2 separate regions of the Homo sapiens genome follow, and region 2 is linked to region 1. The links are contacts of gene promoters, found by promoter capture Hi-C in human tissues and cell types (Jung and others, 2019). All regions are on one chromosome and are shown on one strand. The core of a region is centred on a gene start or on the middle of the fragment in contact, and the rest is flanking DNA. Distances in the headings are between cores, read along the strand shown.

The links. The method cuts DNA at HindIII sites, captures the fragments that hold promoters and counts their contacts. A contact is called where the count stands out against the background at its distance.
Region 2: a contact is called between a fragment that was not itself captured here and the fragment with the promoter of LY6K in region 1, in 1 of the 25 tissues and cell types used here (dorsolateral prefrontal cortex).

Annotation. Positions count from the first base shown.
Region 1 is chr8:142,698,701-142,701,578 of GRCh38, reverse strand. It overlaps LY6K (lymphocyte antigen 6 family member K), which reads right to left and starts at 1,468. Exons shown (of 3, transcript NM_017527.4): 1 at 949-1,468. The coding sequence starts at 1,051. It overlaps LOC124902032 (a long non-coding RNA gene), which reads left to right and starts at 1,895. Exons shown (of 2, transcript XR_007061133.1): 1 at 1,895-2,878. The HindIII fragment of the contact is 17,981 bases long and covers 1-2,878 here.
Region 2 is chr8:142,540,341-142,543,218 of GRCh38, reverse strand. It overlaps ADGRB1 (adhesion G protein-coupled receptor B1), which reads right to left. Exons shown (of 31, transcript NM_001702.3): 28 at 572-1,278. Among named protein-coding and RNA genes, the nearest start is that of ARC, 73 kb to the left of the region's middle. The HindIII fragment of the contact is 5,772 bases long and covers 1-2,878 here.

The DNA of each region.
Region 1 (2,878 bases), core at 219-2,718:
AAAGCAGAATGTTCCAGTTCTCCGTGCCTATCTGATGAACACAGCCGGCATCCGACCAGCACAAACTCGGCGGGTCCCCATCCTTCTCCCCCTGAGCAGTGGCTGGGGCCACATGACTCGAGTGAGCCGCATGGGGAGAAAGCAGGAGGGGTCTCCGGCCACGTAAGAGCTGCCCGCTTCCCCTTCGCCTTCCCCCATGATTGTAAGTGCCCTGAGGCCTCCCCAGAAGCCAGCACCACGCTTCCTGGACAGCCTGTGGAACTGTGAGCCAATTCCACCTCTCTTCTTTATAAATTGCCCAGCCCCCGGACTTCTTTACATTCTGAGTGATTTTTCTTCTCTCCTGGGGGCTCCCCCGTCCTCCCACATCCAAGCACACAACATGAGCGCACAGCGCACCCCCACTCGGCCGCAGCACCCTGACCCCAGGTCGGCCACGCGGCACCCACGGGCCCTGGCATCTCCCGGCCGACGGCTGTGGAAGTGACCCTGGGGCTTGGGTCTGCTCCCACGTGCCCTCCCGCCCACCTCCCAGGTCCACCCACCTCCCAGGTCCTGCCCCCCGACTCCCTCAAAGGAGTTCTCCCTTGGGTCTGGGTTGGGCCTGGCCTAGCTCTGCAGGAGGAGCCGGCCCTCCTCCCGCAGCTTGAACGGTTCTCAGCCCGTGAAGCCCCCGGAGGCCAGGCCGGCGGGAGCCTGCAGCCTGAGGGCTCCCGGGGAAGCGCGGCCGGAGCGGGGCAAGGGCTGGGGAAGGGCCGGGCTCAGGCTGCCCCGCCGCCCTGGTGGAAGCCGCACGAGGCGAGGCTCCCCAGAGGCTTCCAGGCGCCACGGGCCGCCTGAACGCTCCGTTCTCACGGCCTGGTCGGGGCGGTGGCCACGCGGTGCCAGGCAGACGCCGCCCGGCCCTGTCCTCTCGGCCCGTGGCTGTGGAGGGCGAGCCAGGCTCACCCGTTCGCTGGGAGTCCTCTGGATCTCGTTGTCTCGCAGTCAGGTTGGCGTCTGTCCACACCCGCGGTAGGGCCACGACCAGCAGCAAGGCGAGCAGCGCCATCGTCCCCAGCGGTGCCCAGGGAGGGTCAGCGCGCGGCGCCCCCTCCCCGCCCTTCTGGAACCTTCGCAGCCTCCGCGCGCCTCTCCCCGGGTCTGGCCGGTAGGGGGAGCCCCGCCCGCCCCGGGGCGCGCGCCTCCCACCCGCCGGGGCCTGTCGGGGTCTTTGGAGCCTCATCTCAGGGCCTCGCGGCCGCTGGCGGCCCTGAACGCCGGTTCTGAGTCCCGCCTTGTGCTGCTGTTGGAGCGGCCGGCGGCCAGGCAGGAACGGGCGCGGGAGCCCTGGGAAAGGCGCGTGTGGAAACGCAGCCCCTGAGCCCAAGGGCCGTCTCCTTGAGGACCCCACGGCCCACAGAAAGTGGCCGGCGGCCAGGTAGGGGATCTTCTCCGCTGAAGAGCACGGGCTCACCTCTGATAACTCGCCCCTGAATAGCTTTTAGCTCATTATAATACCAAAAAAAAAAAAAAAAACAAAAACCACATCCCTGGGGAGAGATTCCAGATGCTAATGACACACTCCAGCGCACTAGTGTGTGAGGTCACGGTGCCTGCGTGCCCTGAGGACTTCCCAAAACGTGCTTACTAGTAAGGCCCCTGCCTGGGCCGTTCGTGAGTAATCCTGTAAAACTCTCATCAAGAGGGTCTCCCCAGCGTGAGTAGCGACTGACTCATTCTTTTGAGCAGTTCCTCTTTCAAGCTGTACTGTTTTCCTTAACTAAAAGCTCAAATAAGAATTCCTCCTGGCGCCTGTAGTCCCAGCTACTCGGGAGGCTGAGGCAGGAGAATGGCGTGAACCCGGGAGGTGGAGCTTGCAGTGAGCCGAGATCGCGCCACTGCACTCCAGCCTGGGCCACAGAGCGAGACTCTGTCTCAAAAAAATAAAAAAAAAAAGAGAAAGAAAAGAATTCCTCCTAAGTCACTAGCTTTTGGCTCTATCTCCTGAGTGGCAGGTTCTGTCTTGTCTCTCTGAGATCCTGACTCTTTAAATAAAGGTTACTTAACCCTATACCTCTTGCTAGGCATCTCTTGTCTGAATTCCTTCCTCCAAGAAGACTAAGAACTGGAGGATTTCCATGCCTCTCACAGTGACAGTGCTACCCAAACATCAGGGTTGTCATCTAGGCCCCCTGCCCTGCACAGAAAGCCAATCACCAACAGCAGTGCCAGGGAAGAAGGCCTCATTCAAGTGCTACAGCCCAGAGATGGGCGCTCAGTCACAAATCCCTCTCCTCAGCCCACTAAAATTAGAAGTTTCCAGAGCAGGGAAGAAATGTCACCCTGTGTGGGAAAACAGGAATTAGGGAGAGTGAGGAGGCAGCTAGGCAGTCATGACTGGTGAGGGGTCTGGCCTCAAGGACCTACTGAGTTTCAGCGCCTTGATACTGTCTGGGAGGCCCGATGGTTGGTTTCCTGAGAAAGGAGCTCAGATAAGACAAATGTAACTTTCCCAAGTTTTAAGACAGGGTGGGCCAATTTCTATGTTTATTCAAAAGAAACCCTAAATACTAGTTTTACGAGAAATTGGGCCCATGTGAGTAGGCCCCAAAGGGCAATCCACAGGTGGTGTTCTCCACCCTGCTTTCTCCTCTCAACCCTCTGTATAGAGGCCCTCTGTTAACACAGGCAGGAGCAGGAATTTCACACTCTTTTCCTTTCTTTGCTTTCTTCTTTGTCTTTTTTTTTTTTTTACAGTTGTGATATAGTTTGGATCTGTGTCCCCACCCAAATCTCATGTTGAATTGTAATCCCCAGTGTTGGGGGTGGGGCCTGGTGGGAGGTGATTGGATCATAGGGGTGGTCCTTCATGAATGGTTTAGCACTATCCCTTTGG
Region 2 (2,878 bases), core at 211-2,710, 160 kb after region 1:
CAGCGAGCAGCACCAAGGCTGGGCTGGGGTGTCCGGCTCGCCTACCCGGGACACACTCCCCAGGATCAAGGAGACCTGAACTTGGGGCCACATGGCTGGGTCCCCCGACAGAGAACTCAGGGACACAGGGCAGCATCACCAGAGGCCAGGAGCCAGGATATGGTGGGAGCATATCCTGTGGGGACGGGCTCCCCCAAAAACAACATCCTACAGGCTGACTGAGGCTGGGTCAGCTGCAGGCTCCAGGCTGACCTAGGCAGGTATGTGCTGCCAGGCTGCCCCAAGGGCTGGACTAGCGACTGTGCGAGGTGCAGGTCCTGCTCCGTGGGTCCAGACTGTGGGTCCCTGAGCCCCTTTGAAACGGGGTGAGACCACCCTGCCAAGCCTAGGGTGGGGACCACACGTCAGACATACACAGCACACCCAGCAGGGCCAGGGGTGGGGGGTGTAGCTAGGAGGCAGAGCCAGCCCGCCCCGCTGACGGCGTGGGGGTCCCACCCAGCAGGGGTGACCCAGCTGCTGCAGCCCTGCCCTCGCTGGCTGGGGTGTGGCCCACCCCTGCCCCCCTCACCTCCAGGGAGCTCACAGACAAGGTGGCGACATTCTCGTTCTTGGTGCTGGGCCCCGTGCTGGGTCCCGGATGGGCGGCAGGCTCCCCGGGATCCCCCAGGCTGGGGGGTGCCGGCTCCAGATTGGGCGGTGGGGGCAGGGGCTGCTGGGGAGGTGGTGGCGGTGGGGGCGGAGGCGGTGGGGGCTGGGCAGGGGGTGCCTCGGGGGGCCCGCCGCTGGGGGGCTGGCGGGAGGGCGGGCTGCGGGCGGGGAGGCTGGCCTCGGGGGCCGTGCTGAGGTGGATGAGGCGGGTCTGCGGCATCTGGTCAATGTGGATGCTGTACTTGGGCTCCTCCTTGGGCTTGGGCCGCAGCGTGGCCGTGGCCGTGGGCAGGATCACGTAGCTCGTGTCCAGAGCCTTCTCCTGGGCCCGGCTCAGCTCCGAGTCCAGCTTCTTGAAGATGTCCCCGTCACCGACGAAGGAGGACTTGGGCGCCTTGTCCCTCTTGAGGGTCAGTGAGTGGTTGGGGAAGTCGGGCAGGGGCCCGCCGGGATAGCGGGGTGAGCCGTGCAGGTGCAGCTTGGACACGTTGGCCGGCAGGCTGTTGAAATTGGTGGGCGGCCCCTTGGCATGGGCCAGCTTCAGCTTCTCCTCCTCGGGCAGAGACGGCCGCTTCAGTGTGCCCGTGATGGTGGCAGTGCGGCAGGCCGCGATGTCCTTGTTCAGCACTGCAGGGGCCGCGGGGGAGACAGCGGGGACAGGTGTGGGGGTGAGGATGGCGTAGGACAGTCCCCAGCAGGAGAGGGGCCCAGTCTGCCCTGCGAGGCCGCCACCTCCTGGGAGACCCTGGCCAGGTCCTGCTGGGTACCGATCGGAGGGCCAACTGCAGGTACCACCCTACCCAAGCCTGGCGCTACGGCCCCTAGGGTTCCTGTGTCCTCAGATGAGGCTGCCACACAGGGTGGCCCTCTCCACTGGCCCCAAGAAGACAAATGGCTGTCACCCACACACTGCCCTCCCCAGCGCTGAGAAGAGCAGGCGAGGGCGGCCTTGACTCCCGGAAGCACAGGGACACAGGCAGAACGGTCTGTGCTGGTGGCAGAGCCCAGCCGGCCCTCCAACGCTCCCGACGCCCACGGCCCTGGGCCTTGTGTGGGTGGGGGGCAGTGTGCGGGAGCCCAGTGGTGCTGAGTGCAGCCACGAGGCCCTGGCCCTCTGTCACGGCCCTTCCTGCATCGCTGCCCCTGGGGCCTGCAAGCCTCCCTGCTCTGCCCTGAGGGCCGCCTGGTCCCTGGAGAGAGGTCTCCATACCCAGACACCTCTGATTCTGTCTCTGGTCAGTTGCAAGGGGCCCAGCCGCCTTGACCTCTGAGTGGGGCTCCAGTTTGCCCCCGACTTCCTGCCAATGAATCTAGCCCCTACTGGCTGGCGGAGAACCCCAAGCTGACTCTGACCCAGCCGCCTGCCCCTGACAGAGGGGTGCCCACCCTCCACACCCCTCCTTTCTCCAAGCCCCAGTCTCCAAAGATCCAGACCCCAGGGCCCTTCCTGGGAAGCCTGGCCTGCCCCCTGTGTCCTGCCCCATGCAGGCTGGCAGATGGTTACCCACCACGCCAAGCCAGCCCTGGGTGCCTGTGTTCACCAGCTGCTCCCTTCAGCCACCTTGCCAGGCACACGGGCCCCAGGGTCACCAATGCCCCCCAAGCTGCCTAGCCAGGGGTCACTCTCTCTCCCGAACACAGGCTTCCCCGTCCCCCTCAGAGCTCAGCAGGCCATGCTCCCGGCCTGGTCCTCTCCTCCACCCTCTGGACAGCAACACCCTGTGCCCATTTTCAGCCCCGCCCCTTCCCTCGTCCCTACCCAAGAGTGACCCGTCATCCTCCCCGTCAGACCCACATGCCCCACCCAGACAGCCACAGCACTCTCGGGACGCACGTCCCCAAGGCCGCCCCACCCCGCACAGACCCTGGGGCTCCCGACCTCCCACACACCTCACACTTTGCTCCCCACAAGGCAGAACGAGCGCCTGGCACGTGAGGGGTCTATGTGCCTCCCTCGCATGTACCCACCTTGGGGCACAATAAAAGCCAAGCTCCCCCCAGGCCCAGGCCCCTCGCTGGCACCCCGCCCACCCTCCCGCTCTGAGGAAGCTCCCAGGCGCTCAGCACCAGCTGCTCATGGCGCATCCACCAGCTGCATGTGGATCCACCAGGCGCTGTAGCCAGCGCATGAATGAGAGGGAATCAGGGGCTCAGAGAGGCCCACATACACCCAAGCCACCTGAGGCCCCAAGTCCTAGGGTCACCCCTCTGAGAGGCTGTGGGACTG